3 separate regions of the Homo sapiens genome follow, and all the other regions are linked to region 2. The links are contacts of gene promoters, found by promoter capture Hi-C in blood cells and fetal thymus (Javierre and others, 2016). All regions are on one chromosome and are shown on one strand. Each heading gives the region's core, a stretch centred on a gene start or on the middle of the fragment in contact. The rest is flanking DNA. Distances are from core to core; before and after follow the strand shown. Region 1 has its middle 5.6 kb from the start of MSGN1. Region 2 holds the start of TTC32 (tetratricopeptide repeat domain 32). Region 3 overlaps SMC6 (structural maintenance of chromosomes 6).

Region 1 (3,556 bases), core at 456-2,955, 2.1 Mb after region 2:
TTCTTTAAATCTGCATTCTACACATGGTGAATGACTTGCTCAATGTCATACCCAAAGGCTGTGGCAGAGATGGAAAGAGAAAAGCCAAAGTTGCCTGCCTCCCATATCTGTCCTTTTTCTTCCTTTGAAACTAATAGGACTAATTGCAAAGTATTCACATCAGGCAGACTACGTATTTCCCACATTACTGATTTATTGGGATAAATATTTTACTTCAAATGTCATTCAAGCAACAGATATTTATAAGCTATTGTGACTATGACTGTGACAGATTGAAAAGAGGCCCCCAACCTTGAGGCCCACTCTCAAGAGACCTTGAAAAATGTTCAGGTCCTATTTTCCAAAGTATAAGACAAAGGTACAGGTTGTTTCATCTCTCAAATCCCAGGCCTTCATATTGACCTTTTTATTGTAGCTACACTCACTAAGGAGGATCCCAGATTTGCCATACATATTAATAAGTGGTCTGTGTCTAATTTTCAGAATGATGAGCTTCTGAGGGAATGCTGGTCATGTTCCTGACAACAGTCAGGACAACTGGGCATTTCACACTGGCCTCAGAGGATTGTAAACTCTACATTTAAGAGCCAGGAAGCTTTCTTGAGGCAGAGCCACTTCCAGGAAATTGGCAAATAGTGCTCAAAGGATAGACAGAAAACAGAAATCAAGAGGCTGATGGAATTCCTTAAGCTGTGGCCACCGGTGGTTCCATGCCATTACCAGCCCATACGGCTCCTTTGTGCAAATTACAAAACAACCAAGCTAAGGCTTATTTCAGCCCTGCTTGCCTCTTCAGCCCAGCACCTTTGTGCAGGGTGCACCCTCCTCAAGCAGTGGCCCTGGGAGCCCCTGTGATGTGCCTCCTCTGCAATGTTAGCATTTTTAGTACTTTGGTGGCTGTTTGAACATCGGTGAACAGATAGAACATGGGGGTAGTGGCAAGAGTGCAGGAATAGGAGCCAGGTCAAACCTGTCACATCTTACATTTCCTCCTCTGTTATTGTGACCTGGGACACATGAATCAATCTTTCTCAGCTTCAGCTTCATCTTCATCTGTGCAATTGAAATACTAATACTTGCCTTATAGAGTACACGCTTTTAGCAGGTTTACACATTGTAAACTGTAAGTGTGGTAACTAATGTTGCTGTAATTATTAATCTTGTGCTGGGGCAGGGTGCTGTAGCTCATGCTTGTAATCCCAGCACTTTGGGAGGCCAAGGTGGGTGGATCACGAGGTCAGGAGATCGAGAGCATCCTGGCCAACATGGTGAAACCCCGTCTCTACTAAAAATACAAAATTAGCTCGGTGTGGTGGCATGTGCCTGTAATCCCAGCTACTTGGGAGGCTGAGGCAGGAGAATCACTTGAACCTGGGAGGCGGAGATTGCAGTGAGCCGAGATCGTGCCACTGTACTCCAGCCTGGTGACAGAGCAAGACTCCATCTCAAAAAAACAAACAAACAAAAATCTTGTGCTGGGTACATTCTTGGTTCCTTGAGTCAAGAGAAGTTAGAGCCACAATACAAGTAGCCACAAATATATCACTCCCACTTTCTCTTGGCCTCAAGTCCCCCCTGCTTAGAAACCAAAATCCCTCCATTCAAATGTAATCTTTCTTTTTTAATGGAACCAGAGTAGTGGCGTACCCTGGATGGGTGGTGAGAACCTTCAGCCTCTGGTGTAGGCAATAAAGGGAGGTATTGTCTACATATAATTTTAAAACAGTGATAATGCTTGGCTAAAAGTTGGTCTTTATCTTATTATAACCATGTAGTGGCAATTCTAAACAATGACAATAATAAAATGACTCCTCTTTAGGGAAGCCCACTCCCACCAACACCCCCATCCTTGGTACACCACTGCCAAAGAGAACTTGGAATTCAGTCTAGAAATGTGGAACTGTCACTCAAGGCACCCAAATCCTCTACTTTACTATGGAAATTTGAGTGAGTCATTCAACCTTTGCGGACCTCAGTTTCCTTGTGTGAAAATTAGGAATCTTATATATTGTGTTGCTATGACATTTTTAAAAATTAAAAAATTGAGACTTGACTTTGGAAAGTATGAAAGAGTATAGGGATATGTTTTGATATTACCAAGATTAACAAAAATACTTTCACCAATGCAATTATCTGCTCCAAACCCAGCCATTTGCCATGATACATGACACCAGGTAAATCAGCATGGAAGGTGGTTCATGCTCCTTTAAAAGCCTGTCTCATGAGAAATAGGACCGTCTCAGACCTTTGAGAAGCATCAAGGTTGAGGGTCTATTTCTCTTGTGATCTCCTGGATCCCTGTTCTACATGAGGTAGTTTGTATGGGCCATTTGTTCGAGTCAGAGGGAGGACTCCAGTGAATTCCAACTCCTAATAATGCTTCAGAAAAGCCTTCCATAGATAAGAATTTGGTCAATAAACTAAGAAATCTAACCCTGGAGTCTAATTAAAATGAGGGTGAACCTTTATTGCATTCCTGCCATGTGCTGAGAACCAGACTTTTCTCTTTCAGGTTCATTAGTTAATCTTAATTTTCGCAGCAATTTTGAAAGATAGAGGTTCTAATCCACAACCTAAAGATGAAGAAATTTGTGTTCAGAAAGAGACCCAGCAGACACAGCAAGAGGATGGGAAAAGTAGAATGCGATCTAAGTCTGTGTGAATTCCAAATCCCCCCGTACTACATAATTATAATTTCAAATTCTACTCTACTACACTATTTCCCAAAAACAGCTTCATACATGTAATGTAATCACTGGGAATAGGTACAAGATGCAAGGCTTGGTTCCAATCTTGCCTCTTCCATGAAGCTTTCCCTGCCTGCCTCAGCCCTTGGAATTTCCCACTTTTCTGATCAGTAGCACTTAGATTTGGCACCATTCATTTGCCATTAATATTTACCACCTGATATTCTGGTTCTCTGTTCACATGGATATGACTTATTCCCATCAGCTACATTGAAACGTCTTTAAAGATATAGATGATGGCTTTTCTATCTCTTAGCATGGTGCCAGGAGCTCAGAAGATGACTAGTCCTTTGGTCTTTGGGCTTTTACTTGGCGCATGCTGGGTGCCAAATACTGTACTGGGTGCTGAGGACAGAAAGTCAAATTAAAAAGCGTTTGTCTTCAAGTTGCTCAGGGTATTGAAGGTGGTAATAGAGAAATAAACTACTTATGAAACAATGTCAAAAATGCTTTGATAAATTTAACCATAGGGCACAATCTGCACAACTGTATGTGACAGCCTTGGGAGCCCTCTGTAACTAACTTGTCTCTTTTACAATGTTAGCACTTTAGTACTTCACTTGTTGTCCAGACATTGGTGGATGGATAAAAAGTGATATTGGTGACAAGAGGACAACCTTGGGGGCAGACAAAACCTGGGTCAAATCTTACAAATATTTAACATACAAACCAGGCACTCAGTGGAAGGCCACAAAAGTAAATCTGGAAGGCTTTCTGAAAGACATGACTCCTACAGGCTTGTTTGTTTGTTTGTTTGTTTTGAGACAGAGTCTCGTTCTGTCACCCAGGCTAGAGTGCAGTGCAGTGGC
Region 2 (3,608 bases), core at 426-2,925:
GGGGAAACCCATCACCACAAAAAATACAAAAATTAGCTCACTGCCAACCACTTCCACCCAGAAGGGATTCTTGTGCCTCAGCCTCATGAGTAGCTGGGATTACAGGCACCCGCCACCACGCCCAGCTAATTTTTTGCATTTTTAGTAGAGACGGGGTTTTGCCATGTTGGCCAGGCTGTTATCAAACTCCTGTCCTCAGGTGATCTGCCCGCCTAGGCCTCCCAAAGTGCTGGGATTACAGGCATGAGCCACAGAGCCTGGCCATCTCCACTTTTTCTTATCCCCCAAAAGGATTAACATCCCTGGCTTTATGTAGAATAGTGTACGCTGCCACATCAGTGTTTGAGTCATTCCCCAGAGGAGAGGGGAATCCCCCCTCCATTTTTTTTTTTGCAACATCTTGTCTTCCCTTTGCTGTTGCTTCCCCCAACACACTTGGTTTTGTTCTATCCTGTACTTCAGATTTGTTTTTTGTTTTGTTTTTTTCATATTGAAAAGATGACATTGCTCCAAGAGGCAAAAATAAATGGGAACTGAAAAAAAAAAGCTTTTTATCTTATTTATTTAATCTTTTAATTCACCTGGAATGAATATTATGTCAATTGGGAGCTTAAATGCTTAAATGTATTTTTCCCCAAATGGTTAACTAATCCTCCCAATAGCACTCATTTGAATAATCTGTCCTTTCCCCATATATGTTACATGTCTTTTACAAAATACAGCCTATTTGAGGTATGTTTCTGGGCTTTTGTTCTATTGAGCTGTCCATTTGCTTACACCAGAAATGCCAGTTTATTTTTTTGTAGTCTTGCAATCTTTTAATTTCTACTAGTGCTTTTTAATTTAACCTTAATCCACTGTATTTGTATTTTTTTCAGTGGTGGTAAAAGGAAAAAATTAAAAATCTAATGAAAGCAGCCAAAAGCACACAATTTATGTCCTGTTAAGACTTCCGCATGTAAGTATCATGCTCCAAATATATTTTTCATCTTTACTTTTTATGACGGAAAGGGCTCAAGTACTTTGGGAAGCAAAACAGAATCGAGGGACGCCGAGAAGATACACAGCAGGCATGTAGGGTAGCGTGGTTGGCAACTGTTCTTACAAAATTTTAATTTGAATTATACGTAATGTACGTAATAAATTACTATTTGGATTTCCCTTTGGCATAAACAGCCAGGGAATATAACTAACATCAAAGATCCCAGACTCTCGACACAATATACTACTAATCGTAACACAATTCTAGAGGGTCAAAAAAGGTAGAGAAGTTTGGACCGTGGAACAGACCTGGTGGAATGTCGACACAAAGCGTTTCAGGGTAGACAAAGCCTACTCAGAACACCCTAAACGCGGAGTTTTGCTAAGTTGGGACGCTAAAAGGCAAGGGAATGACAGGACGTCCGCAGGCTAATTCGCCATTAAGAAACAGAACCGCGGCTTCTTCCACCTCCAGCGTCATCGGCCCCCAATTCGCTGTAACAAACGGATAGTGTCTCGCAGCATCAGACAACGGACTTGGAAATCAGTTTGCGACCACGCATCTGCGCCTTTTCTAGGAAAAGAGGAAGGCGGGTCCAACACTGGTAACGGCAGAAACATAGTTCACAAGGGCCACTGCAAACGCCCCGCCAGCAGCGGAACCGTTATCTCGCGAGACGACGGATCCCCATAAGGCACAAACCTAGCGCCAAGGTTGGCTGTCAAGGTAGATTCCAGGGTGTGGAAGTGGCTTTGTGGTGCCACCTCTAACCGCTCGGAGGTCAACCCCCATTCTACACCGAAAACTAGGCCTTGGCTGCTATGGAAGGACAGCGGCAAGAAAGCCACGCAACCCTAACACTCGCCCAGGCTCATTTCAACAATGGAGAGTACGCGGAGGCCGAGGCACTGTACTCCGCTTACATTCGCCGGTGCGCTTGCGCGGCCTCCAGCGACGAGAGTCCCGGGAGGTAACTATCGCGAGACCTGGGGCCGCGGCGACCCCGGGTGGAGGCGACGTTGGGGTTGTTTGGGCTCCTATCTTTGCCTCTGGAGCTCACGGTCGGCGCTTGTCATAACCCAGCACTAGGACTGAGCGGGCGGACGTTCGTCTTTCTAGAAAGGCCTAGGCGAGGCCTAGGACGAGGGCGGCGGAGAACGCGGGGAGAAGCCCACCCGTGAGGAGCCAGCTGCCGCGACGGTGCGGAGAGATTTCCGGGAACCAAGCCCTCTGCGCGATCCTCGGGCGCGGGCCGCCGCCTCTCACCCCGCCGTCTCTCCTTCCACGTTCCTCATTCGCACCCAGAGACTTAGGACAGATAGGAATTTTCCACTCGTGATTTTAGCTGGCGGGAAATCCGCGACCTGGGAAGGGAAGGGGTCACGGCTGCGTAGGGCCACAGTACCGCGACTCCCATCTCAGTGTCACGGCGCAGGCTCTTGGTGGTGTTTTTCACTTGTGAAAAACGTTTAAATATGTGGAAGAGAGCATAACGAACGTCTAGGTGTTTATCACTTGGCTTAAGCATTATCAGTTTACCTATTGTATTCATCCATGGATGTTTCAGAAGGAACCACCATGTCATCATCACATAGTTACTTAATATCAAGTCGTCAGTGTTGGAACCATTCTGATCGACTAATAAGGTGTTTTGTTCTTTGGTTCCCTTTTCGCAGTTAGTTCAAGTCAGGATACACATCAAGTCTTTTTAAGTCTCTTCTCCACCTTCCCCTCTTTATTTGTTGAGGAAACCGATTCTTGTGTCCTTTGAATTTCCGTGTTTTGGACTTGCTGACTGAATCTCTTCTGTCGTTTAATGTGGTCATCTGTCTCATATTGCTGTGAATTGGTGGTTAAACCTTGAGGTTTGATCCAATTGAATTCAGATTCAATATCATGGCAAGAATACTTTTTAGGTGGGTGTGTGTACTTTCACCAGGAAGCACATAACGATTCGCTGACTTTCTCTTTGTGATGTGAGCGGCTTCACCTGTTACTGTCTGCTTGCCCAAAGCATCTTTTCGGCTTGTGCCTGGATGTGTAGCATTTGTTTTTACTCCAAGTCTTGCCTCGACTGGGCTTGTTGATGGTATGGAGTGGATCAGGATGAGAAAAGAACAGAGGGGTTGGTTGAACAGCTTTTTGAATAGTTGTGAGTTGTCTGTTGTGGATTTGAGTTTTCTGGACAGGATGCCAGCTTGTCTTTTGTATGAGGCTTAACTAAACACTAAGGACTTGATTCTTACCCTGTTTGTTACGCTACATGGAATTAAACCAGAAAGAAAATTGCCTTCTCATTTCAATAACACACAAGAATAATAATAGAAGTTTCTGAACAGGCAATAAGATGATACCATCTACTTTCCTCAGTGCACCTCCCCCATAAAAAAGATAAGTAAACATAGAAAGCGAAACTATTCATGTTTCAAGCTCTAAGAGTAGACTTACCTAGTAGATTTTAAAAAGTATTTATCAGCATCAGGTATGCTGTTGCTGTCTAGTCTTGTTATTCTTCCTTCTTTGCACCTCTCAGCCTAAGAACACAAGTGTCTGTAGCATATATAATAGCTATGCCTTACCAGCACAGGAAAGACAGTTTGTCATAGCGCAGTAGAAGGGAGTTCAT
Region 3 (3,398 bases), core at 846-3,345, 2.2 Mb after region 2:
GCACAGAGATTTGGGCAAAATCAATAAAATTTGTTAATTGAATGCAAGAGAAGGAAAAATCAGGATGACTCCTAGGTTTCTGGTTAGAGTGACTAGCTGAAGGATGCCATCAGTTGTGAGGAATGTCCTTCTTGAATCTGAACTGTCATTTTAGGACCAAAGAGAATAGTCCTGGCCATTCTGGTGGGGCCTGCTCTGTGAACTGACACAAAGACTCTGAAGAAGAGTGCCTGGCACTGCCTTGCTGGCACATTGTGTGTCCCAGCCTGTGCTTCTAATCACTTAGCCACGAAACACATGTGACAAAGGATCCAGTGTATGTGTCATAATGCCAGTTTTCTTGGAAGTAGGTGAGTTTATGTGCTGAGAACAAGGGCCTCAGGAGTTGCTAGGAGGTACCTTCTTTAAGGGTTTAGATTGGCTACCAAGGAGAATGAGAGAGGAAGCTGACTCGAAGTCTGCTTAAGATACAAAAGCCTAGTGGCTGCAGGATTTTTCACTAATAATGTTTCTTTAGAGATGTGAGTGGAGGGAGAGTCTGTACTGTTAGATAAACATTAGAGTTTTTTAGAGTGGGTAGGTACTGCAGAAAGGGAAAAGGGAAGCAGTTGAGTGTTTTGTTGACAAACTAGTTTAAAGAAAGAGAGGCCTACGAGAAAGTGTTTAGACCCACCTCAGTGAAGTTAGAGAATATGCTTAAATGCATGATAAGTCTGGAAGGATAGGAGGTTGTGGTAAGAGTGAGAAATTCAAGTTGAATGGAACAGGTCTAGGGGATGACAAAGTCCATGTTTTGGCTTCAGGAGCAGGTAGCTGAAACACAAGTTGTTGGAGTTGTGGAAGAAACTAGATTCTAATCCTTTTGGGTGTTGACAGGATATTGACAAGAGTCTTGAGTATGTCTAACATTCTGTTAACTTTACCTGCCTTGTAAACATTTTGAAGGGGTGATTTTTTTCTGTGTTTGAAGAAATTTTTCGGTATGAATTATGGTTCAAATGCTAAATTTAAAAACTGGCTATATTATTTTAATGTGGAAAATAATAGTAAAATATTATTAGGGTATTATAATGCATCAGATACATAGGACTCATTTCAGTCATTTAGGCTTACGCTAGATAACCTTAACAGAGGTACCTAGGAAGATGCCTAGCTCGTAAGGAGTATTCAGAAAATGTGCTTTCCTTTCCTGTAAAGATGGTCTTGTTTCTTCTTTTCAGAAGGACATAGAAGCTACTAAACTACTACTCCTGCTATTATGCCTGCATTTGTACATCTTGCCCCCATCTCAAGAGAGATTCTTTCTGTCTGAGGCTAGTCTACTTGTGCCTTGAATCACATACTTTCTTGCCTGACTCTATTAACCATTTAAAAAAATTATTTCAGCCCTCTCCTGAGCCTTAAACTTTCCTGTTAAATTTTCTCTCTGTTTTAAACATGATAGGTCTCTGATTTGCGTTTCTTTTAAAAATACACCTCTCCTAGGGGAGACTGCATTCACTCATAGACTTACCACTCTTGGTTCCTAAATGTTAATTGCATTCTCCAGTTATTTCCTTGTTGCCGAATCCGGTTGATATTTACCTTCTCTCAAGCATTAGATACTATTAAATACACCTTCCTTCAAACTTCATATTCCTTTTGTTACTATGACACCATTTTCTTGGTTCTCATACTCTTTAGGTGTTTCTCAGCCTATTTTATGGGCTTTTCTTCATCTCCTTCTGGTGCTCCGCACAGCTCTCTTCATAGTCTGTTATAACTTCTCACTTTATATCTTCTTATATTTGGAGAAATTAAAAATACACCAAATTTAGACCAGTCACGGTGGCTCACACCTGTAATCCCAGCACTTTGGGAGGCCGAATCGCGTGGATCATTTGATCCCAGGCATTTAAGACCAGCCTGGGTAATGTGGTGAAACGCCGTTTCTACCTAAGATACAAAAATAAACTGAGCATGGTGCTATGTGCCTGTGGTCCCAGCTACTCAGGAGCCTGAGGTGGGAGGATCACTGGAGCCCTGGAAGTCAAGGCTGCAGTGGGCTGTGATCGTGCCACTGCACTCCAGGTGACAGAGGGAGGTCCTGTCTCAAAAAAATAAAATAAAAATACACCAAATTTTAATCATGTTTTTTTCCTATATTTTAACTTAGTGGTGTTTTTCCTTTTACTTGACTTTAGAAATCACATCTTTTTATCAAATGATTTAAGTATAATTAGGATGAAAAAAAATCATTTTGTCCTGTAACTCCGCTTACCAGTGAGGCCTATTATACTTGACTAGATTTTCTGTGCACTTTTTCCTTTGTCAGTATGTTTTGTTTAGACTTTCTGCTTAACATTGTTTGTGAACCTGTGTCCTATTATCTTCTCCTTGTCCCCTGTCACCAACATCTCATTACTTATATTCCTTTCTACTTTTGGCTCTGCTAGACTAATATTGTATCCTCCCTCAACATACTATTAATTGTAATATAAGCCAGTATGAGGTAAATCCCAGGGACGAATAGCAAAAGGAAGAGGTAGTTGTGACTTGGCGCTTTAGAGGAAACTGGTAGTAACAGCTTCATGTAATGATGGCCTTTGGCTGCCCGAAAATGGTGACTCCTTCCTAGTGTCAAAACCTGTGCTCTCAACAGGCTAGCGAGAGTCTACATTTCACCAGAACTGCCTACCACGTCCTCCCCTCTTAGACTCCTACTCCCTTTCTTTATCTCCTTGTTCCGTACTTTGTTTCATTGACTGCCTGACGTTTCTAGAGCACCCATACCCTATTCTTTCTTATCCTTGTTTTTTTTCCACCTGAACTCTGTCCTAAAAAGCCATTTACCTGCTACTGTCACTTTTCTCTGCTTCCCTTTTCAGGAAAAACTCAAAGGAGTTGTCTGTTTCTCTAATTTCTTTCTACCTTCTTTCTTGAACCTTCTCCAGTTAGACTTTATAATTTCACCACATACCAAAACAGCTCTTATCAAGGCATCAGCAAGCCTCACTTCGCTTAACTCAATTGACTCAAAGTCATTACTCTTCACTAATTTTACTTACTGGCAGTATTTGCCCTTGATCCTTTCATTCTTCCTGAAACACTTTTTCACTTGGCCCAAGGACCTCACTCTTCTCATTTTCCTAATTCTCTAGGTGTTCGTTTTTGGTATCTTTTGCTTCTTCCTCCTCACAGCTGACTGTACCAGTGCTCCAGAACTCTTCTTGGTATGCACTTCTCCCTAGGTGAACTCATCTGATTGCATGGCTTTACAGATCATACATTGATGACTGAAACTGTGTTTGTAGGTTGCCTTTTTCTTCTGAACTCTATAATATAATATACTTAATATATATTTTTCACTTAGATGCCCAATAAGCATTTCAAACTTACCATGTCTGAAAGCCATACTC

What was found. Contacts are between HindIII fragments. The CHiCAGO score rates a contact against its expected background, and 5 or more counts as called.
Region 1: a contact is called between a fragment that was not itself captured here and the fragment with the promoter of TTC32 in region 2, in 4 of 17 cell types (M1 macrophages, M2 macrophages, total B cells and 1 more). The highest score is 9.3, in M1 macrophages.
Region 3: a fragment that was not itself captured here is called in contact with the fragment with the promoter of TTC32 in region 2 in 1 of 17 cell types (neutrophils); the score reaches 6.3 in neutrophils.

The regions. Positions count from the first base shown.
Region 1 is chr2:17,809,044-17,812,599 of GRCh38, reverse strand. No RefSeq gene overlaps it. Among named protein-coding and RNA genes, the nearest start is that of MSGN1, 5.6 kb to the left of the region's middle. The HindIII fragment of the contact is 2,215 bases long and covers 598-2,812 here.
Region 2 is chr2:19,900,050-19,903,657 of GRCh38, reverse strand. It overlaps TTC32 (tetratricopeptide repeat domain 32), which reads left to right and starts at 1,675. Exons shown (of 3, transcript NM_001008237.3): 1 at 1,675-1,952. The coding sequence starts at 1,804. RefSeq lists enhancers at 1,323-1,562, 952-1,832, 2,013-2,112, 2,193-2,252, 2,393-2,582 and 1 more. The HindIII fragment of the contact is 3,134 bases long and covers 550-3,608 here.
Region 3 is chr2:17,710,337-17,713,734 of GRCh38, reverse strand. All of the region lies in intron 16 of SMC6 (structural maintenance of chromosomes 6), which reads left to right. Among named protein-coding and RNA genes, the nearest start is that of SMC6, 42 kb to the left of the region's middle. The HindIII fragment of the contact is 8,646 bases long and covers 1-3,398 here.